Regions from separate parts of the Homo sapiens genome. Here regions 1, 2, 3, 5, 6 and 7 are each linked to region 4. Evidence: promoter capture Hi-C in 16 types of primary human blood cells and fetal thymus (Javierre and others, 2016). All regions are on one chromosome and are shown on one strand. The core of a region is centred on a gene start or on the middle of the fragment in contact, and the rest is flanking DNA. Distances in the headings are between cores, read along the strand shown.

Evidence for each region. Contacts are between HindIII fragments. The CHiCAGO score rates a contact against its expected background, and 5 or more counts as called.
Region 1: a contact is called between a fragment that was not itself captured here and the fragment with the promoter of ACSS1 in region 4, in 6 of 17 cell types (naive CD8 T cells, total CD8 T cells, non-activated CD4 T cells and 3 more). The highest score is 7.8, in naive CD8 T cells.
Region 2: a contact is called between the fragment with the promoter of LINC01431 here and the fragment with the promoter of ACSS1 in region 4, in 14 of 17 cell types (total B cells, naive B cells, total CD4 T cells and 11 more). The highest score is 45.2, in total B cells.
Region 3: a fragment that was not itself captured here is called in contact with the fragment with the promoter of ACSS1 in region 4 in 2 of 17 cell types (naive CD4 T cells and non-activated CD4 T cells); the score reaches 5.3 in naive CD4 T cells.
Region 5: a fragment that was not itself captured here is called in contact with the fragment with the promoter of ACSS1 in region 4 in 1 of 17 cell types (naive CD4 T cells); the score reaches 6.2 in naive CD4 T cells.
Region 6: a fragment that was not itself captured here is called in contact with the fragment with the promoter of ACSS1 in region 4 in 1 of 17 cell types (total B cells); the score reaches 7.4 in total B cells.
Region 7: a contact is called between a fragment that was not itself captured here and the fragment with the promoter of ACSS1 in region 4, in 1 of 17 cell types (total B cells). The highest score is 6.7, in total B cells.

Annotation. Positions count from the first base shown.
Region 1 is chr20:23,909,368-23,912,825 of GRCh38, forward strand. No RefSeq gene overlaps it. Among named protein-coding and RNA genes, the nearest start is that of CST5, 31 kb to the left of the region's middle. The HindIII fragment of the contact is 2,299 bases long and covers 171-2,469 here.
Region 2 is chr20:23,356,204-23,359,542 of GRCh38, forward strand. LINC01431 (long intergenic non-protein coding RNA 1431) reads right to left here and starts at 1,924. Exons shown (of 3, transcript NR_109884.1): 1 at 1,752-1,924; 2 at 848-934; 3 at 391-766. RefSeq lists enhancers at 1,350-1,439, 1,630-2,019 and a silencer at 2,070-2,259. The HindIII fragment of the contact is 4,137 bases long and covers 908-3,339 here.
Region 3 is chr20:24,019,919-24,022,968 of GRCh38, forward strand. No RefSeq gene overlaps it. Among named protein-coding and RNA genes, the nearest start is that of GGTLC1, 33 kb to the left of the region's middle. The HindIII fragment of the contact is 2,153 bases long and covers 551-2,703 here.
Region 4 is chr20:25,056,847-25,059,992 of GRCh38, forward strand. ACSS1 (acyl-CoA synthetase short chain family member 1) reads right to left here and starts at 1,293. Exons shown (of 14, transcript NM_032501.4): 1 at 923-1,293. The coding sequence starts at 1,256. RefSeq lists enhancers at 389-518, 1,169-1,774 and silencers at 619-888, 1,019-1,548. The HindIII fragment of the contact is 7,356 bases long and covers 1-3,146 here.
Region 5 is chr20:24,002,205-24,005,562 of GRCh38, forward strand. No RefSeq gene overlaps it. Among named protein-coding and RNA genes, the nearest start is that of GGTLC1, 15 kb to the left of the region's middle. The HindIII fragment of the contact is 2,637 bases long and covers 1-2,578 here.
Region 6 is chr20:23,415,147-23,418,503 of GRCh38, forward strand. The region is part of intron 1 of NAPB (NSF attachment protein beta); the gene reads right to left. Among named protein-coding and RNA genes, the nearest start is that of NAPB, 4.7 kb to the right of the region's middle. The HindIII fragment of the contact is 3,803 bases long and covers 1-3,357 here.
Region 7 is chr20:23,376,510-23,379,602 of GRCh38, forward strand. NAPB (NSF attachment protein beta) reads right to left here. Exons shown (of 11, transcript NM_022080.3): 10 at 2,936-2,986; 11 at 1-977. The coding sequence ends at 867. Among named protein-coding and RNA genes, the nearest start is that of GZF1, 16 kb to the left of the region's middle. The HindIII fragment of the contact is 3,001 bases long and covers 1-2,947 here.

The sequences.
Region 1 (3,458 bases), core at 70-2,569, 1.1 Mb before region 4:
TGGGGGCTCCATCCCAGAGAGATGCAGGTCACCAATTGCTCCATGCAATCAGTCTAAGATGAAGGGTTGTGCTGTGGGCCCAAGCCAAGGTTCCCTGTCCAATGACGAACTATGAGGAGTGTGTGGGATCCCTGGAAGACAGACTGACCTCCTCTCCTTGGGTCTACTGAAGCTTGTTGGAGGTTAAGGCACTTAGGGTATTTGCTTATTCATTAGTGCAAAGGTGGCAAGGGCAGCGGCAGAGAGACTTTCAGTTGCCCCTGGAGGCTCTGTACATGGAATTGCTGAGTTGCTGCTGGCTTAATAGCTCTGGTGGGGCATGGCTGGAGGCCCAGGCCTGGAGGACCTGCCTGGTGAGGAGATATGGGAATGGACACCCACATAACAATCTGGCCACTTTTCTGTAGGGCTGCTGTGGTATGCTTGGGCCCACTCCAGTCCCTAGTCACCTGGATTTTCCAGAACCTGGAGATGTCACCAGCGAAGGCTACAAAACAGCAAAGATGGCAGCATTTCCCTCCCTCTGGGAGTTTTGTCTCAGGGAAGTATGGACCTATTGCCAGCCCAAAGGCACCTGTAGAAAGTGGCTGGAGACCCCAGTTGGGAGGTCCTACCCAGTAAGAAGAAATGGGATTGGGACCCACTTAAAAAAGCAGTCTGACCATGTTTTGGCAGAATAGCTGTGCTATTCTGGGGTCCACTTCAGCCCCTGGGCCACCTGAGACACTTCAAAGCCCAAAGGCTGGAATGGCTAAGTCACCCAAACAGCAAAGATGGCAGCACACTCCTCCCTCTGGGAGCACCATCCCAGGGGGAATTCGGATCTGTATTGGCTGGAGATCTCAGGTGGAACCGGGTGGAGGCTCTAGTTGGGAAGTCCTGCCCAGTGAAGAGAAACAGGATCAGGCACCTGCTTAAAGCAGCAGACTGGCCACATTTTAATAGAGCAGCTGGGCTGTGCTGAGGGATCCCTTCTTTCCAGGTCGGCTCAGACTTTCCAAAGTCTGAAGGCTGGAACAGCTAAGGTGGCCAAATAGCAAAGCTGGCAGCCTGCCCCTTCTCCCGGGAGCTCCTTCTTAGGGAGGTGCAATGCTGCTACTAGTAGCTGGTTGGACTTTCAAGACAGTGGGTCTTGTCTTGTGAGGTGCCATGGAAGTGGGGACCATGGGCTTTTGCTGCTCAGCCCCCTGGATTCAAACCATTTTTACGGTTACACAGAGTAGTCTATCCCACTTTGCTGGAGCTGCAGCTATTTTTGCTGGAAAGCCCAAGTATCTAAGACTCCAGGGTCTCCACACATGCCTGAGTGGCTGCTCTGCTGAAACTCCACACAGCTTTCTCTGGCAGACTGAAGACTGAAGGTCCTGGTGGAGTGGGTTTACAAGGAGATCACCTGACATGAGGGTTGCTAAGACATATGGAGGAAGCATGGTTTCCTGATGTCAATCATGCACTCACCCCTTCCCTGGGTGGGTGGGGATCCCCTGGTTCTGTATTGCTTCCAGGTGGGCTGTTCTCTTGTCTTGCTTTTTTTAGTTTTCTGTGGGTCAAGTTGTTTCCTTGATTAATCCCAGTGAGTACTTGGATGTTTCAGTTGAAGATGTTATATTTATTCACCCCTTCTGTTTCTGCCCATGAGAGCCATGCACACTAGCTGCTTCTAGTTGGCCATCTTGCCACTCCCAAAAAGTTTTTATTATTTAATGTGTTGCACCAACCTAATATGTTATAATATTAACTTAGAACAGGAGAAAAAATAGGGGCCAGGCACAGTGGCTCATGCCTGTAATCCCAGCACTTTAGGAGGCCGAGGTGGGCAGATCACAAGATCAGGAGATCGAGACCATCCTGGCTAACATGGTGAAACCCCATCTCTACTAAAAATACAAAAAAAATTAGCCAGGAATTTCCTATTTCAAATAAATGGCTTCTATGGGGATACAAAGGCCTGATTTTTTTGCCCCGATATGTTACCACTCTGAGGCCATCCCCATTACAGAGCTCTCCATGGGCCTGGCTGTGGCCTCTGCTGAGCTGCACCCCTGCCTGACTTCTCCCTCTGCCCCGACCCACATCCCTGCCTCCCAGCACATGCCTCAGTGAGCCTCTTGCCTATGAATCTCCATCTGAGTCTGTTTCCAGGAACCCTAACCAAGAGCTTGTGGAGTCAAGACCCACAGCACAGAATATCCTGCCTTTTTAACTACAGTGGGTGTTAGGTCTGTGAACGTTTTGAGGATGAGACAATTCCTGTCTGGAAGACTGGATATCTCCCCTTCTCAGGATTTGAGAGGTAGGATGTTCCAAATGTTCTCAGACCTGAGACCTGCTCAAAAAAAAAAAAAAAAAAAAAAATTGGATTTCCAATTTTCTTTCCAGCCTCACTGGAAATTCACCTTTTTTCAAAAATCTCTTATTCAACTGGAACATTTTTAATCCTTCCTCCAATCTTAGTGAAATGAAAACTAAAGCTTCTATCTGTATTGAACTTTGTGAAATATTTTTACTCACCTAATTTCTTGTGAAATAATTTCACTCTCCTAATTTTCTTTATACATCTGATGAGGAAGGCTGAGCAGGTAACATAACTCCTTGCATTTTTGAAGAAATAAGTAGGAGGGAGGTTGAGGACAAGGTGCCAAGTCATACAATTTTCAGTTAAATTTTGTTCCTGTCGCACAATAAGCCTTATTTGAAACGCGGGCTCTGGGATGGACACTTAGTGGTGTGTGAGCTCCGTTGTTCCTGGGAGCGTCCTGGCTGCAGATAGCAGGAGTCCTGAGAAACACTGGCTGCCTCTCCCATGATGACGGCAGTCATTTACCAAAGGTCGTGGGATGGTGTTCACAGAGTTGCTGCAGTGTCCTCAGCAGGGGCCCAGGTGGTTTCCTTCCATCTTCTCCATTGTTCCTTTGGCTCTTGTTCTTGAGCACATGGCTCATAAGTGAAAGGTGGACTCCATAGCCCAAGGCATCCTGTCCCAAACTACACCCTGAAAGGTGAGGAGTAGAAGCAGGAGGAGGTCACAGGGGGTGAGAGGAGGGTGGGGAGAGAGTGAGAGTGAGAGAGATACACACAGTGGGAGACAGGCTGTCCCCAGGGTCTCTCTGTTTATTCAGTATAGACTCTCTTAGCAGTGACCTGGTTGAAGTCTTAAATGTTTTTGTCTGGATCTGGGTCCTGTGCCTCCAGGGCTGAGGAAGGCTAAGAAATTCATGGGCTGATACTTTCAGTCTTTGCACTTGAGAGCAGGCAGGAGGAAGGGAATTGAGAATGGCTGGTCAGGTTTCCAGAACAAGGTTTCTTACCATAGATCCATAGAGATCCTGTAGAAACTCCATTGAATTCTGAAGGTTACAAATGTGCTTGTGCAGGAGAGTGCATACACAAACACACACACACACACACACCATTTCTAAATTTTTCATCAGATTCCTAATGGGATCAGTGGCTGCACA
Region 2 (3,339 bases), core at 674-3,173, 1.7 Mb before region 4:
GACTGTATTCACTACAGGGCCCAGAAGACGCGGGGACGGCCCCAACTACTGCCCTTCAGGTCCGGGCCAGACCCGCAATGGGCAGGATGGGTAGGGTACAGGGCGTGCGTCCCCACCTACACTAGCCTGGTTGCAGGCGGCCTCCAAGGGCACAGCGGGAAGCTCCGCCCTTGCCATGCCCCCGCCACCGGGGAAGGCAAGACAAATGTGCGTGGCACCCTCCTCCTTCGGTTCTGGGACACATCTCCACCAAGCGGCCGTTCGGCAGGTAGGGCCAGATGGTCCCGGCTCGTCCCTGCGGGTGGGGTTTCCCACCGGCGGAAAGCGCAAGCCCCTCCCGTTCTGTCCAGCGCGCTGCCCGCTGCCTTAATTATAAGGCAGATGAAGGTGAAAAGTTTACTGGTTTTTATTTTTGCAACTTTTTGTAAATTTTAAATTATTCTAAAAAGTTTAAGAAATGAATTGTGCTGAGGAGTATAATCAGCACGCAGTGCGAGTTCTTATAGTGGCCACGTCCACAAACCCTGTGTTGTGGAAGAACAGAAGGCGTTCTGCTTTCTGTGTTTCACCGTCTCTCCCTCGCTTTAACTTCCAGGTCCCGGAGTAGTGGTGACAGCAAGGTCTGTTGGTTTCTTTGGTTTAGGTTTGATGAAAGGCCACTCCAGTGGGGTAGGAGGTGGGCAGGGAGAACAGGGGCTAGGGTGGGAGGGGCAGGAGTTGGGTCCTGGGGGTGGAGGAGATGACGGGGAGAGTGGCTTGGAGAAATCTGCAAGAAGAGACATTGGAAGGCCGGGGGAGGTGAAATGGACACTGGGTGAAGCTGAGGAGTCCTAGTGAACCATGTTACCTCTGATCCAGATATTCCCAGAACAACAAGAAATCAAGCTTCTGAATGTGGTCTGTTGCAAGCTTGGAAGGTGCACACCTGTTGCTGCTAATTTGGACAATTTGGGGGAAGAGCAGAGATTTAGATGTTGCTTTGGTCGACCTTAAACACCAGCCCTGTCTCCCCTACCACTTTGCCAAATTAGGGCCCCGTCTCTCTAAAGAGCAAACAGAAAACTGCAGAAAGTTGCTTTGTCCTGTAGACAAGAGGCTGGGACTAGGTAAGAGGAGGGAGCCAGGATGCAAAACTTAAGACCAGCCTGGCCAACAAGGCGAAACCCCGTTTCTACTAAAAATAGAAAAATTAGCTGGGCGTGGTGGCAGGCGCCTGTAATCCCAGCTACTCAGGAAGCTGAGGCAGGACAATCGCTTGAACCCAGGAGGCGGAGGTTGTAGTCAGCCAAGATCGCGCCACTGCATTCCAGTCTGGGCGACAGAGCGAGACTCCGTAACAAAAAACAAACAAACAAACAAAAAATCTTAAACATCACCAACGAGCCTTGTGAGAAATGGTTTAACGTTGTGATACCTTGCCCAATTTTAAGGCAGGTAAAGGTGTGTGTTAAAACTCAACTCTTGAACTGAACCCCAGCTGCCCTTTAGGGCATGCTTAATTTGATGTGGACTGTAACCTCTTTTGCAGCATTGTAGAGATTTGGAATCTGCACATTAGGAAGAGACCCCACGAGGCGGTGGCGTTCTTTCTCGTTCGGAGCTCACACCCCTCCTGGGGAGCCCTCTCCCAACCCGGGCTCCCGGTAAGCGCGGTCGCCGCTCCTCTGAGGGCTGCTCTTCCCTCGCTTCTGAGCCGAGGCCCCCGCGACACGAACGCCACGCCCGAAGCGCTCTTGCCAGGACGTACTGACCGAGGGTAGGCTGCCCAGCCGGGTGGTAACGTTGAGGAAAGGACAGCAGCTTCGCAAAGGAGCTGGGTAAAACCACGCCCAGACCCCGCTGGCCACCAGCCCGAGACCAAGACGCAGGCGGTGGCGCCGGTTTCTCACTCAACCGCAGGTTCCAGCATCCCCGATACGGCCGACGTCATTACCCTGCGACCGCTCAGGACACTTCTGAGGACTCTTTTGACAGCTAGTAATCGCGCGGTGGCGCGACCACGTGACTCCGGCGCCCTAGCCCCGCCCTCCGTCTCCAAGGAGCCCTGGAAGGAGCTATACCAGCGGCTCCAGAAGGCGGGGAGAGGCGGGGCCGGACTCCGGGACAGCCAATGGGCGAGGAGTGCCGCCCAGCCTGACCCACCGGCCGCTCCCTCACGAGCCTGTGGGCGTGCGCCGGCTGTGCAGGTGAGGGGCAGCGAGGGCGCCTAGTGGGCAGGGCGCCGGCGTTGCGCGTGCGTCAGTGTTCTTCCTTGTGCAGTTTAGAATTTGATACATTTCTTTCCAGTCTATTTCTATAGATTTGTTTTCAAATCACATCAGACCCTATGTAAAATAGTGTACCGTCTTTACTCATTATAACATGGTGAGCATTTCCCCAAGCTATTACACATATTTTTAAACATTGTTTTAATGACCGGCATAATAATCCAGTGCTTGGATATATCAAATTCTTCGGCCATCTCCTTATAGGTGAGATTGTTTCCAAAGTTTCACTAATGTAAGTGCACTGCAGTGAACGCCCTTACGTAACAATTGTTCACTCCCGTGTACTTTTCTCGTGCAGAGTTCTACAGCATGAAACACTATATTTAACTTTGTCAGGTTGATGTTTATCAGTGGTTTATTATTGTTTTTATAGTATTCCATTGTCAGTGAAGTATGCCATTCACACTGTCAAGTGAATTGTCTATTTGTATTATTTAAAAAAAAGATCACAAACATAGAAAGGAGAGCTTTATTTCTTTAAACGGTGATAACCTGCAAGGTGGCCCTTCTGACAGGCTGGGAAGCATAGCTTCTGGCAGAAGCTCAAAAGGCAGGCAGCTGGAGGGAAGGGGGCCTAAGACAGGAATTTAAGCTGAAGGACTTAGCCAAGTACACATATGAACAGGCCACAGGAAGAGCTATGAATATTCATGAAACGGGTCCTGACCCATGCTTACTGGACAAACGTGCATGTTACAGGTGACCTATGTTTACTTTGGGGTGGACTCTTAGCATTTACAGGTATTCATGTATTACATTTAGACCCTATAAGTTGAAAGATCTTTTCAGGACACCGATGCACTTGTGTGCAGCCTCTGTAAACCGCCAGAATCAGCCCCTGTTCGGTTGTTTCCCATCAGGAAAAAGTTACTGCAGTCAGTCTCTGGTCCAATCAAAGCAGTAATTATTTGTGGAAGTGGTGGGGCTGGGGCAGGGGGCGTGTCAGTCAGCATGTGGAGGTGGATGAAAAGCACATTGTTTGAATATTGCTTATCTAGAGGCCAGTGCTTGTTTGGCTGCCAGAGAATAAAAACCTTGTGGCAGTTAAGGCATAGTTTCTTCTTGAAGTGTA
Region 3 (3,050 bases), core at 377-2,876, 1.0 Mb before region 4:
TTAGATCCAAAAATGATAAGGACTCTACTTCTAATAGTATGGAGAACACTGATAGTCCTTGGTGTGAACTGTTTAGAGAGTTACGCAAAATAAATGCATCTGACACTCCTAATTCACCACTCACAAGAGGCAAGGAGTTTGGTGACTCTATACATAATACCTTTGACTATATGTGGAGAACCAAGGAACATAATGAAGCTGGTTGGTTGCTCCTAAGTTTGGTGGAAAAAGTGACAAAAGAAAATGATGAACTCCGGGATTCTAACTCCCAGCTTCAGAAGCAGATACTGAGGCTCAAATCTGGTAAGACTGCCCTGAGTGAGGGTCTTATCTCCTGTAGAGAAATAACTAAAATTGTGGAAAAACAGACATAAGCTCTTACAATGCGAGTGGCTGACCTGCAACGAAAGGTGCATGCAGAGCTTCCCCAGGTGTCTGCTGTTAAAGTGAGGGCATTGATAGGAAGAGAATGGGACCGTGCAACTTGGAATGGGGATGTGTGGGAGGACCCTGATGACACTGGGGACACTGAGTTTGTAAACTCTGATGAAGCTTTTTTTGCCAGAAGAAACAGCTTCCCTATCCCCAGTAGTGGCAACATCCCCTCCCCGACCCATGCTGCCATCAGCCTTTCCACCTTTGTCTGAGGAGTTAAACCCTGTGCTGCCTGAGGCAACAGTGATGATGGCCTCAAGGCAGTTGCCAGGCAAGATAATGTTGATTCTCCTGAGGAGCCACCCCCAACACCCCTGTTTTCTTCGAGACCTATAACTAGACTAAAGTCCCAGCGGGCCCCTAGACATAAGGTTGAGAGTGTGACCCATGAGGAGTTGCAGTACACTCGAAAAGAACTGCTTGAGCTTTCTAATTTATATAAGCAGAAATCTGGAGAACAGGCATGGAAATAGATATTAAGGGTGTAGGATAATGGTGGAAGGAACATAGAGTTGGATCAAGCTGAATTTATTGCTTTGGGCCCACGAAGTAGGGACTCTGCATTTAATATTGCAGCTTGGGGAGTTAAAAAGGGTTCTAATAGTTTATTTGTTTGGTTAGCTGAAATATGGATGAAAAGATGGCCTACTATGAGCGAGCTGGAAATGCCTGATCTCCCTTGGTTTAATGTAAAGGAAGGGATTCAAAGGCATTGGGAGATTGGGATGGTGGAGTGGATTAGTCACTTTAGATCTACTTATTCCAACTGGGAGCATCCAGAAGATATACCTTTGACCAATGCCTTGCAAAATAGATTTGTGAGGGCAGCACCTGCATCTCTGAAGAGCCCTGTAATTGCTCTTCTCAGATCTCACAGTGGGAAACTACAACAGCCCAATCCAGGTAGGACTACAAATTGCCCAGACTCTTTAGGAATGAAGGTTTGGCTTACTCCACAAGGAAAAAAAAAACACACACACACAACCTGCTGAGGCACTTGCTAAAGGCAAAGGGAATACAGAATGGGTAGAAGAATGTAGTCATCAATACCAGCTATGACCACAAGACCAGAAGCGTGACCAGACCTTTTTATATATATAAAGGGGAGTTTATATGTGTGTGTGTGTGTATATGTGTGTGTGTATATGTGTGTATGTATATGTGTATATATATATGTGTGTGTGTGTGTGTGTATATATACATAAAAATATATATAGATATATATCCTATTAGTTCTGTCCCTCTAGAAAACGCTAATACAGTTGGGGAAGAAAACCTGACACCAAGTGCAGGGCCAGTGTTGGGCAGGGGGAGCCTTGGACTGTGGTGCTGACTGAGGAAGGCTCCGCCAACCCAGAGATTGCCCATTAGAGGCGTCCAATGCTGGGTGCACTGAGTTGGGCTGCAGCACCAGCCAAGTGCAGGCCGTGGCAGGGATGGCCTGCAAAGAGTTTGTCTGAGTAGGAAAGCAGGGGCAGATCCTGGTGGCAGCCAGTGAAGGCTGCAGAAACCCGCCTTCCTTGCAGCTGGGCAAGTTCTCCCTTGAGGGGAAGAGAGGTATTCCACAGTGCTCCCCACCACTGCTCCCTCCAAATCGCCACTCAAACCAATTCCTGCTCTGGATCCTTTCCTCAAGGTCTGCTTCTGGGGGAATGAGCCTAAACCAAACTTTCAGTTAATATTTATTATGCTTCATGTGCCCCACTGTGCAAGGTGCATATCCCTAAAAACCGTGGGTTCTTAATGAATGTGTTTCCTGCTCCCAATAAGTTCATTCCAGTTTTTCTCCTGTGCAGTTTTATGCTGCACATAAAAATACATGAAGGGAGATTGCAGGATCCCTACTAGAGAAGCAGGGCCACTTGCAAATTGCAAGCAACTGAACTAACATGATGTAGAGGAAAGCTGATATCTGTCACTTGCATGAATGTGTACTCTGAACAAGGAAGGCAAAGGACATGGGGCAGGCATGGAGGAGAACAACCTTGAGGTGGGTCATCACAGCCACAGTGCCCCAAGTGCTCTGAGTTCCAGCTTGCAAGGCTGTCCTGGGAGGTGCCTGTTTCTACTTCATTTTCCCTTTATGACACCCCAAATAAATGGCACAGCCAGATGCACAAGAAACAAAAGACTTTTGAAGATTTACAGGATTTAAGATAAGGATCCTTGTATCAGGAAGCAATTGTATGAAAAAAATAGTTAAGAGCAAGGTTTCCAATTTATATGAACACTCAGATTTGTCCCACAGGTTATTAAAGCTGAACAACAAGCTTTTCATTCTGCTTGGAGGCCAAAAGCCGAAAAGCTATTAACTTGCATACATCTTGTGTGCTTCAAAATTGAAATTAGCTTCTTTAATTGCATCAGCATAAAACAAATATCTGTTCCTCAGAGGACCTGGTTTTAAAGGCAGCTTGAAATTAAGTGACCCCAAGGCCCACACAGATGTCATGACAGCAGCTATGAAAAGAGGTGATTTACTGTGTAATTGGGAGTGGTGCAGAAAAGTTGAAATAATGAGAGAATTGTTTTTCTTTGTGTTTTCTTCCTTATTCTCTGGATTTTATTTTCAGCAATTAAGTGCTGATTAGTTCCTCTACTGCCTGATGCTTTGA
Region 4 (3,146 bases), core at 43-2,542:
CCCACACCCAGGCCCACCCTGCATCCGGAGCCCACCTCGCACTTGGCACCCACCCTGCGTGGCCAGCCCTGCCTGCAGTTCAGGGCCTCCCCCTCGGTGCCCAGTCAGCGCCTTAGGTGGGGGCGAGGGTGCTGTGTACGACCCCCAGCCCCAAATCTTAGCAGAGCAGCAGGGCCTCTGCTCAGCAAGTTCCAAACAACTGACCACCAGTCAACTGTTTGGGGCCGACGTCAGACCCCGCGGGTCCAAAGCAGGCCCCAGGTCGCTGGGGTGCAGTTCTCTGAGGCCGAGAACGAGAACGGGGAGGCCGCCGTTACTTCCTTCCCGTCCACAGGCCCCAGGCCCCAGGCCCGCAGCGAAGAAATAACTGGTTCCAGCTGCCACGCCGAGTTTCCTCCTCCCCAGGTCGCCCGCCACAGCTCTGTTTGTTTACGTGGGCAGGGCTTGTCCCCAGGCTGATCCCCGGGCACCGCAGCCCGCAGTGACAACCGCCACCGCTTTGTTTTTCCCTCCACCCCGGTATGGGAACGGGAAAGTCCCGACTCCGGGGCGCTCGGGTGTAGCCCGCGGCTCCCCGCCGGCTCTTGCTCAGCGGCGCTATGCACCCGGTAACGCAACTCTGGAGTCCGCCGAGCGAGGAGCCGCGCCGAGCAAGGCCAGCAGCGGGGCGTCCCAAGCGGCCGCCGGGTCCCCGCGGGCGCCGGCCCGAGCTGGGCACGTGGATCTGGGGCCCGATGGGATGAGGGACGGGGTGACGTGGAGCCACTGCTTAGAGCGGGCGGGGCGGACGGAATACCGGAGGAGGGGCCCCTGCAGGGCTGCGATCCGCGCTGCCCGGGGACGGCTGCCGCTGGCGAGAGGCTCCGAGTCCCCTCGGGACCCAAGAGTTGGGGGCGTCCTGGGTCTCCCGAAGCCCACTCACCAGAGACATTTAACTGGCCTCCCAGGAACCAGCCGATCTTGCCAGTGCTGAAGTCGCAGTCCCAGACGGTGTGGTAGGGGGTGTCCCACACGAGAGTGTCCCGCGCCAGAGGCCCCCAGAAGGCGGCCGGCTCCCGGGCTGCCTGTGCACTCAGCGCGGGATACGAGCCTGGCTGTGCTGCTGCTGCTGCAACTGCGGGAGCGCTGCCCGAGGGTCCCGAGGCCGCCCTGCGCGGCGCGCTCACCCCGCACGGCGGCCGCGCGGGCTGCCCCGAGAGCCCTCGCAGGCTGCCCAGCAGCCTCCCGACGCCGCGGCCCAGGGTGCGCGCCGCCATCTAGGCAGGCTACCTGAGCTCTCTGTGCTCCCAGAGTGGGTGCCTCACGCCCGGGGCGCCCCGTGGAGTCTCCGCGGGCCCCGCCCCTGCTCCGCCCTTCCGCCACCATCCATTCCTCCAGGGCCCCCTCCCGGAGCCCGCCCGGGTCCCACCCCTTCTTCTGCTGCCCGGGAGAGGGGGGGCCGCTTAGGAAGAGGGGAGCAGCGTGGGGAAGGGGTGCAGGGGAGCGCGGGGCGGAGCAGGGTCCCAGGCCCTGGCCCAGGCGCTGCGCTCCGGTGAGTCTGCGGTCCCACCCGGATGTTCCTCGAGTCGGCCTGTTTTGGTTTCAGTTTGCACGCTCTCCTGCAAGCCCCGACAGCTTCTTCGAGCTGCCAGAGGCACGTGCGGCCCAGGACCCCAGGACGCAGGCTCAGGGCCTGGGGCGAGGGGACCCTCTGGGATGGGGAGGAGCCGGGAGGGAGCCGGCACCAACGTTAAGGGGGCTGGTGCACCCAAGCGCACTGGTGGGTCCCAAGACAATAGGTCGGTCAGTTCCGCATCTCAGAGGCTGAAGCCAAGGTTTTCATGCCTTTGTGCGCCCCTGAGAGTGAACCCCACCCCTGGAGTCTCAGCAGCACGCGAAAGGGGCTGGCGCCTTTCTAGGCTCCCGCCTAGAAGCCAGGAGGCTGCGCAAGCCTGAGTCCGTGTTCTGGGTCCCATGCTCCAGCCCCCCAGCTGCCGGCCTCCGTCCTGGCGGGGGTCACGTCCTGCTGGGGGTCGGTGGTGGGTGATATGGGGCGATGAGGACTTTCTCCAGTTGCTGCAGCATCTGTAGCCTGAGTTCAAACTCTGTGACCTTGAGCAAGTTCCTTAACTTCTCGGTGCCTCGTTTTCCTTTTGGGGAAGACGGAAGTAATGTCTCCCTGGGGGGCGGGGACGGCGGGGGTGGGCAGCTGCAGTAAGGAATACATTGGACAATGTCTGTCAAGCGTCTACCCTTGCGTGGCCCCATAGTAAGCTCAGTAGTGGGGATGATGTTTTTGCAGCTGTGGAGCCAGGAAGGACAGAAGGAAACGTATAAAACTGGTCTCCACCGAGTTCTTAAATATTCTGACACCCAAGAAGTAAATTCATAACAAACGGGTAAACACAGGGAAGAGAGATTTTGGAAAACTGGTTTATTGAGTTCTCTGTGATGGGAAAGTTTCTTTCCCTTGAGCTGTAGGGCTTGCAGAGGGGAGGAGCCTGCCATTGGAGGAGCCTCTGCGTGGGCTAGCCACCAGCCCCTGCTGGGGAATGCTGCTGTCTGCCAGAGAAGACAGGAGTGTACCTAGAGCTGGAGAATCAGTGACATCTACTAGCATAACACATGCCCTGCACAGTGCTAGCGCTTGACCTGCATTTTCTCCTTTATTTATTTATGATACTTTTTTAGAGATAGGGCCTGTAGCCCAGGCTGGAGTGCAATGGTTCCCATCACAGCTCACTACAGCCTGGAACTCCTGAGCTCAAGCGATCCTCCTGACTCGGCCTCCTGAGTATCTGGAACTACAAGCGTGTGCCACGGCACCCGACTAGTCTACTTAATTTGAAACTTATCTAGTGCTGTCCATTCCCACCAACTGTCAAACTCCAGGTGGAAAAAATGAGGAAACTGAGCCCAAATAAATAAAAGGACTTACTAAAGAGCATGCAGCTGGCTAAGGGAAGAGCAAGACTAACACCCAGTGCCCCCAGTGGGGAGCTCGTTGGCCTAAGTTCATTTGAATAGAATATTAAAGACACCCAGTACAGGGCACTGAGAGGCAGAGGTCAGTGAGTAGTAAAATTGTAAACTGAGAAAGCTCCTAACTGTGGCAGGGGGTCCCAAAGACGGCCACCAACTCTTCCTTCCCACGCCTGCACCGCCTG
Region 5 (3,358 bases), core at 10-2,509, 1.1 Mb before region 4:
TGAGGGCATGGTTCTTGGGGAGTCATGCATGTAATTGAAAGACACAGCTATTCTGGGGGCTGTGAAGGTTATTTATACCCCAGTGTGGCTTGACCAGCCGAAGTCTATGAGTCTCTCCAGGAAAGAGCTGCAGTGTGCAGGTGCAGTTCGAGCTTTCTGGTCTTGATGACCCTGGAGAAAGAGAAAATTGATGTTGGGTTGGATTGTGTGCAGCTTCTCTGGTTGGGTGAAGACTGTGTTTGGCATTTTGAAGCAGAAAAACGTCCTTTCCATGTTCCAAAATGAAGGTGATGATTTGCCAGCCCACTCCCTGCACATCCTCAGGGAGCAGGAGTCATACATCTTCCCTTGCTGTTGAAGTCATCCTGCCCCAGACGCCCTAAAAGCCTGATGGGTCTGGATGAGGAGAGGACACACCAGGAGGAGCAGGCAAAGAAAAGTTTCAGCTCCTCCGGAGCCCTTGAGTACGTGCAGAGCAAGGAAGTCCAAAGCAAGTAATGTAACACTCAGCTCCCCCTGAACTGGTGAGAGAGCTACATGAGAACTTAACAAAAACCACAAATGACAAGCCCTAGGAGACGTAGCTAGAACACAAAATACTCTCAGGATCTATAGACAGAAGAATGGATTTTTCAATTAAATGAAAATGTTTAACAGATGAAGTGAGAGATGGTCACAGCGGATAACTGATATACAGATGTGGGGGACCAGGTAGACATTCTGCAATCCTGTGAACACACGCACACACATGCACACTCACACACATGCACACACGCACACTCACACACACATGCACACACACATGCACACTGACACACATCCACGCACACACACATTCACACACATGCACACACGCACACACACATGTACACACATGCACACACACATGCATACACATGCACACAAGCACACTCACACATACATACACATGCACACGTACACACACCCACACACGCATGTGCAAACACATATGCACACACGCACACACACATACACGCACACGTATGCACACAGACGCACACCCACGCACACTCACACGTGCACACACACGCACACACATGCACACACACAGAGACACAAAAGCCACAAGGCAATATAAAGAGACCTGAAGAACAAATCCAGGATACCCAATATGTGAATAACAGACCTTCAAAATGGTAAACAAAAAAGAACCAGTAGAAGAAAAGTCACACTCGAAAATTAAGTGTATGTGATGAGAGGCCAGAATGATTATCCCGGTGGGTCTCACAGTGGAAGCAAGTGTGAGAAAAACAGTCTGTAACTTCGCTTTGGACATACTCATATTACAAAAGTGTGGCCCCTAAGAGGATATGCTACTGTCCCGTGGGATGCCAAGCCTTTTGCTCTGTCAGGGTGCAGATTTCAGGTGACATATATTAGCTTAATGCACTGAAAGAAACCAAAATATTCTCCCCTACCTACTGAGGATTATGGAGCTTAAGAAGATTCAGATGCAGGGAGACTCCGCCCTGCCTCTGCTTGCCAGGTAGCAGGACAGCAATTTACAAAACCAAGGTATTCTTCCTTCCTCTCTGTCATTCCCACCTAAAGACAGGCCCCTTTCCAACACTTGCTTATAAGCTCAGAGACAGCCACGCCAGAGAATCTAGGAGCTGGCTTTACTCTTCCCACAATTACTTTCCCATGTATCTCACTTTTTTTAAGCCTGAAGATGCTCTTTTCTTTGTCTTGTCACTAAATAGGATTTATGGCTCTTTGTTAAAATAATTTTTTTTTAAGTGGAGTCTCTGTTGCCAAGGCTGGAGTGTAGTGGCACAATCCCGGCTCACTGCAACCTCTGCCTCCCAGGTTCAAGCGGTTCTCCTGCCTCAGCCTCCTGAGTAGCTGGGATTACAGATGCCTGCCACCACGCCTGGCTAATTTTTCTGTTTTTAGTAGAGACAGGGTTTCACTATGTTGGCTAGGCTGGTCTTGAACTCCTGACCTCAAGTGATCTGTCCGCCTCGGCCTCCCAAAATGCTGGGATTACAGGCGTGAGCCACTGCACCCGGCCAATACTTTTTAAGTATTGGCCCCTAAGCCACTGCCTTGAGAGAGAAATAATTTTGAACTGAAGCCTTTCCCAGGTGATGGGTACAGCAAGTGTTAATAAACTCCTGCTGGGTTTTCTCTTGTTAATCTGACTTTTGTTTTCAAGCAAGTCTAAACTAAGAATCTATAAGGGAAAGAAAAGAAATTACATTTCCTCACCTATAGCACTGAAGGAACCCAGGGAACTTCACCCAAAAATATGGCTCCCTAGTATAGTGAGTATTTTGAATTGAAAATCCTTAGAGATCAACAGAGGCCAAGAGAGTTTTCCCTTATCTGCATAAAGACCGACCCCCAAGGAGAACAGTTGCTTTCCTTCTCCTCCCTGTTATCTCCTTATCCACTGCAGAAAAGAATCCCGAGGAATACCGCCTCGCCTGAGCAGGCCCTTTGGCCCTCTAAGTATGCCATCCGTCCCCTTGACAACCAGGCCCCCTCCTGAGGCGGTCCGGGGTCAATCACCACATTCGCATAGAAACAGACACTTGTCACTTTGGAGACTCCAAGCTTTTTAGGAGCTGTGTGCCAGGGAGCAGGACAAAAACCAAATATATATTTCTTATCATAAATCACAATGTCATACTACCGTCTATTCATCCCTCCCCTCGGGACAGATAAGCTTGTCAGTTATCCTTTGGGTGGCTTACAGAAACATCTAACCCCACAGGGATGTTCTAAGAGGCTGACACATAAGAAAGGTAGAGGACATCCATCAGCTGTGCCTACTTAGGGCTCAAGCAGACCTGGTTATATTGCAGTCATTTCTGTCAACAAGAGCCTCCTGTGGCCCTGATGCTACGTAGCCTTAAAAATACTCTCCCCTGGAAGTAGACCCCTTTACCAGCCCCAGCAGACCAAAGCAAAATGAAGTCACTCATGCTAAAGTTCCATGTCACCAAACCAAAACTAAGCTACTTGACCTTCTGAGAAATCAGGAGAGAGAAATATAACCAAAGAGGCCAGCTTTAGCTGGCACAATAAGGAAGTCTGTCCTGCGTTAACTCTCACAAAGAAGTAACCTAATGCTATTAATTGATCAGTTATTTTTCTATGGTTTTGTTTCCTTGTTTTCCCCTTAGAAAACTCACTGTTCTGCTACTGGTTGGTGGAAGCTTTCAAGCTTTCATTTTATTTTGTAGGATGGAGGCTGCCCTGATTCACGAATCACACATAAAAGCCAATTAAGATCTTTAAATTTGTTGTGATTTTGTCTTTTGACACAACTGTGGTTATTTATTCTGCTCATGAATTTGAAGATTGCAGGGCTTGGTGGAGAGAGCTTGCC
Region 6 (3,357 bases), core at 240-2,739, 1.6 Mb before region 4:
TCTGAAAATCAAGATATCAGGAAGTAGAAGTGCTCTAAAATTATTTAGAAATATGGTGGTAACCATCAGAAAAACTAATGAGAAAGTTAAAAATGGTTGCTTCTTGGGAGTGAGATTACGTAAAAAGAAGACTCAGAGAACTTTACTTTTCAACTGAAAACTCTCTGCGCTGGGCACGGTGGCTCATGCCTGTAATTCCAGCACTTTGGGAGGCCGAGGTGGACGGATCATGAGGTCAGAAGTTCAAGACCAGCCTGGCCAACATGGTGAAACCCTGTCTCTACTAAAAATACAAAAATTAGCTGGGTGTGGTGGCACCCATCTGTAATCCAAGCTACTCAGGAGACTGAGGCAGCAGAATCACTTGAACCCAGGAGGCAGAGGTTGCAGTGAGCCAAGATCATGCCACTGCACTCCAGCCTGGGCAACAGAGCAAGACTCCATTTCAAAAAAAAAGAAAACTCTCTGTACTCCTTGTACTTTTCTACCGTGTACAGCTACAATGTTCATAATAAGCAAATATTTAAATAAAATGCCTAGTACAGTGGCTAACACCTGTAATCGCAGCACTTTGGGAGGCTGAGGTCAGCAGAGCAGATCGCTTGAGTCCCGGAGTTGGAGACAAGCCTGGGCAACATAGCAAGACCCTGTCTCTACAAAAAATACAAAATTAGTCAGGCATGGTAGTGCATGCCTGTAGTCCTAGCTACTTGGGAGGCTGAGGTGGGAGGATCTCTTGAGCTCAGGAGGTCAAGGTTGAAGTGAGCAGATATCTCGCCACTGCCTTCCAGCCTAGGCAACAGAGTGAGAGCTCGTCTCAAAAAAATAAATACATAAATAAAACGGAAGAAAGCGACTTAAACTCTCCTTTACTTGGTATAGCTTTGCTCTTGAAAACTAGGTAAGAATAAAAGAAAAAACATCAGCATTTGTATTAGCATTAATACATTCATTCTCTCCACCAATATTTACCACGTGCCTAACGCATGCCTCAGGCTGGGTGAGGTGTTAGCCACAGCAACAAAACAGGCAGACTTCCAAGGAGCCACATATGATTACTGGCCCTCCCTCTCTCCAGAGTAACTGCACCTCACAGAGCTCACAAGAATGAAAGAATATGTGGAGAAAACTGCAAAAATGCAACAAGAAAAAGGCCAGTCTGGTAACAGTTTATCATTTGATACCAAGCTGTAACAACCTAAAATCAGAAAACCAAACAATTATAATAAAGTTATATAGCTCTGTGCAACTGAATAAGCATTCTGACCTCATTCAATCCTTAACAATCGTGAAAAACAGATTCTGTCTCTCTGCCCATCTGAAAACTAAAAAAAACAAGTTCTGAGTATGATTTACTTGACTATAGTCACCAAAATAGTAAATGAGAGAACTTGAGCCTCTACCTGGTCTCCCCATGAATAATAATATAATTATATTTCTTACGTATATTATATAATTTATAAAAATAATTGTTCAATTTATAATCGATTTCTTTTGAGAAAGATACACAAATATACGTATATATTTCTTATACTGTATCACCTGTCTCTGTCAGTAAACCTGAGCCTAATAATTTTTTTAAAAGTTCAATCTGCATTTGAACAAGAATTGTAACTGAGGAAAACCTAAATGCTTCACCTATGTTATCACATGGCCCCACCATATTTTGGCCAAACTTAAAAGCAATCTTTGTTGAAATAAACACAAGTGAAGAATACTGATAATTTACAGTCTACAATGCTTAAGAAATATTCACAATTTTCACAAACAACCAACAAATTATAGATTCATAATTATTTCAAGATAACCCAATGGGGCCTTTCATTAAATTTACATTGACATTGCCAAATTTGTAGCTCTTGTGTAAACTCAGACTAAACACTGAAAGGCAAAGGAAGACAGCATTAACCATAAAGAACATCTTTCCACTGGCATTCTTTTTTTTTTTTTTTTTTGAGACGGAGTCTCGCTCGGGGGCCCAGGCTGGAGTGCAGTGGCACAATCTCAGCTCACTACAACCTCCACCTCCAAGGTTCAAGTGATTCTCCTGCCTCAGCCTACCAAGTAGCTGGTATTACAGGCGCCCGCCACCACGCCAGGCTAATTTTTGTATTTTTAGTAGAGACGGGGTTTCATCATGTTGGCTAGGCTGGTCTCAAACTCCTGACCTCAAGTGATCCACCCGCCTCGGCCTCCCAGAGTGCTGGGATTACAGGCGTGAGCCACTGCACCTGGCCTCCACTGTCAGTCTTAAGCACTTTCTTCTATGTGCATTGTGCAGGTTATTCCCAACCGGGTCTCATAGCAACAAGATGGAGGGGATAGTATTATAAGAGGCTTTTCCAATTCAAAACTATCTTAATGTCAGACTCAGGCCGATTTAAAATCATACCAGTAGTTCATTAACATTATAAACTGGAATTTGAAATTAACTACAAAATTCCATAGCTCATCCCTGGCAACAAACTAAAGGACAAGACAACTCCTTTGGAAGTAGTTTTACTAAACGTACTATACTACAAACTTGAGAAAAAGTTTTAATTCCACAACTACAAAAGCACATTACTGCTTAACGGGCAATTAAGCAGAAACACAAACCACCACAACAGTGGTTTCCTGCAATGTTTGCATCCCTTGTCAGCTCTTTTCCTGGGGAGGAAGGTGGGGATGGGAAAGGAATATTGATACCTTACCTATCAAGCAGATAAGGCAGAGGATTTGTGCCTTACACAGAGAAGAAATATTTGACTGACATGTTCTCATAAATACATATGCATATTTTCATCTAATTTTACTGAAAGCAAGAAACAAAAGCTATAGAATACTACTAAGAATACAGTATTGCCACAAAACCACTGTGAGTGGTAAACACTAGAGAACTCATGACAGGCTTTAATCTGCAGATAGAGCATTCAGAATGTCTGTGATGTGAAATATCTGCAATATGCCAAGCAGCTTTTAATGACTGCCACAACCTGAAAACAGATGGCTTATCCTCTTTAAAGCACCAGCTAGTCAGCTCTTAAATATATGAGCTCTGATGATATTCAAGTCAGTATGTGTGTTTTATTAATTTTGTATTACATTAATTCTGGAGTCTGACATAGAGATGGATTACTCTGCGTTTTAAATAAAGGATTACATGCAGACCTTTAGGAATGAAAATGGTGACATTCTATAGCTAAGAAGGCAGGGGCAGGGTGGAATAACATGTATTCCAGTCTAGAAAGGTGATGATACATGCCATCTATAAGGTAGGATTCTAAACATCTAAAATTGATACAGAATCTTAATTGTCCTACTGACACAGGAACACTACGTCTGTTTTCTGGCTTCAGTAATTATACAATATTACTA
Region 7 (3,093 bases), core at 197-2,696, 1.7 Mb before region 4:
CAGAACACACCACCTCAACGTGGGAAAGTGTATAAACATGAAAATAATGAGCAGGCTATGCCAATTAAAATACTTCAATGTAAATATAAAGGGATTTCCACTCCAACTAAAAGTGAAAACTATCTCCAGAAAAAGAGAAAAATTCCATTTCTAACAGATCTTGTGATATGTGTGTGTGTGTAAACGCGTGTGTCTAAGTACAAATCAAATTCACTTTGACACTCATCCATACATGAAGCAAGTACTTCCAGAAAGCTCCCTTCCTCACAATGTGATGCCTACAGACCCTGGCTATTCTAAATTTTTGCCATGCACATGTTAGCATACGGAACAACACAAAAAGCAAAGAAACTAGTCACTAGCACCATCAAAATAATCACAGGATAACAAAAATAGAAATGATTTCTAATGAAGTTATAAACTCATTCCTAGTAACTGTCCTAAACTAAACACACATTTAAAGAACATATTCAGATGCCAAAGCACAGAGAAAATGCAAAGCATCTATGAGAACAACTGGGCTGAGTACTCAAGTCCAACAAAAAGGACATAAAAACACGTGGCAACATTAAACATAGGCTCCACAAATACCAATGAAATATGAGGAATGAGATTCTGAAGTACTTCTCAGAAAACGCTGGGGGTTCTGATAAGCATGAAACAACCCATCATTACCACAAGATGAACAGGAGCCTCTCCTTCATTCATTTCACAGCAACACAGACTTGGCGAGCTTAAACAATACACAGGCCGTCTGGCTCATATGCAACAAAATTAAGCCATTAAATAGGCATCCCATAAAGATCACTTGACCCTAAGACAAAACTAAAGAGGAGTTAGCTGCATGCCACAAAGACAAAAACATTTCATTTTAGGTCTCCATCTCCTTCTCCATCCCCTTGGATGGACTTTTTGATGCGAAGCAACATGGTGGTCAGCCACTGATCCAAGCGAGATATTGAGTCAAATTCCTTCACCTAGTATAAGGAAAGAGGAACAGGAATTACCCCATGTAAATACATTAAAAACACAAAATAATAGTACCCCAAGCTGTTTATACCTTTACAGCCATAATCTACTAACTTTCTTCATCATTTGAAATTAATCATTCCAGTTTATAACTTTCTTCATTAAAAAATTGTTTATTTTTTCATTATCCTGTTACTATTTTGATACTAGTGACAAGTTCCTGGGCTTGACATTTCTCTGTTTTCAAACGTGTAAGAAAAAAATTCATTAACAGTCATAATTATTGTGGCAAAAGTAACTGGATATTGTATAAAAATTTGAAAGGAATATGGAAAATTAATACTCACTGAACATGGGAAAACATTAATTACAGAGTTAGAATATGTATGGAAGCGGAATTAACACATTTCAATGCATTACCCAAAAATAAAATTACAATAGGATGAAAATGATGTGGTAGGCAAAAGTCAGACAGGAAAACATTCCTTTCCTCTATCACTCCTGAGCTGTGATGAACATGTTACAGGAGGCTACTGAGAAATTTGCTTGAGGCTGGATGTAGTGGCTCATGCCTGTAATCCTTGAAGTCTGGGAGGCCAAGGCAGGTGGATAGCTTAAGCCCAGGAGTTAAGAGACCAGCCTGGGCAACATGGTGAAACCTTGTCTCAACAAAAAATGCAAAAAAAAAAAAAAAAATTAGCTGGGGGTGGTGGTGTGCACCTGTAGTCCCAGGTACTTAGGAGTCTCAGGTGGGAGGATCACCTGAACCCAGGAGGTTGAGGGTGCAGTGAGCCGTGATCACACCACAGCACTCCAGCCTGAGTGACAGAGTGAGGATCTGTTTCAAAATATATAAAAACATTTTTTTTTGCTTGATTCTAAACATGAGATGGCAAAAGATGGAAAAACAAAAAGTATAAAGAAAAAAACCCTCATATTTTTAATATATATATATATTTATTATTTATTTATTTATTTTTGAGATGGAGTTTCACTCTTGTTGCCCAGGCTGGAATGCAATGGCGTGATCTTGGCTCACTGCAACCTCCACCTCCTGGGTTCAAGAGATTCTCCTGCCTCAGCCTCCCGAGTAGCTGGTATTACAGGCACACTCCACCATGCCTGGCTAATTTTTGTATTTTTAGTAAAGATGGTGTTTTGCCATGTTGGCCAAGCTGGTCTCAAACTCCTGATCTCAGGTGATCCACCCGCCTTGGCCTCCCAAAGTGCTAGGATTATAGGTGTGAGCCACCGTGCCTGGCCACCTTCCATTTATTTCATGCCACAAATACAGCAAATTCTCACTACTTAGTTTTTATATTTTAAATTATATTTAATTTTTTTTTTCTTTTTTTTTTTGAGACAGAGTCTCGCTCTGTCACCAGGCTGGAGTGCAGTGGTGCAATCTCAGCTCACTGCAACCTCTGCCTCCCGGGTTCAAGCGATTCTCCTGCCTCAGCCTCCCGAGTAGCTGGGACTACAGGCGTGTGCCAGCATGCCTGGCTAATTTTTATATTTTTAGTAGAGACGGGGTTTCACCATGTTGGCGAGGATGGTCTCAATTTCCTGACTCATGATCTGCCTGCCTCGGCCTCCGAAAGTGCCAGGATTACAGGTGTGAGACGCCGTGCCTGGCCTTAACTAATTTTACTTTATACTTATTTATGGGTCAGATTATTTTCAAAAGAAAAAATTAAAACAGCAAATTATAAGAATATAAATGGAATATTTGCTCCTGAACTAGTCTCACAGCTAAATTAGTTTTGAGTGTAAGTCGAATCTCAGCATGGCTAATGGAACTGTTTAATTTGTGTGATATATAAAAGGTGACGTTTGGAAAATACAACTTAAGGTATGCTGGAGTCATGTTCAAATAAATGTTTAGAATTCACATAATGAAAAGGAAAAGAAGTTTCTTTAACTTAAATCTTCAAATAATGTACCATGTCCCAAAAGCATAACTTACTGCTTCAGTGTAAGCTTCACTGTTCTGTTCTTCATGAGCTTCTAGGAGTTTCTGGTAGCATAAAAATATTTTAAAAAACAGTTCTGTAAGATGAAGTCCCATTTCTAAATATATACTTTAAGTATAATACCAATGTTGCCAAATATTGCACAAAACTG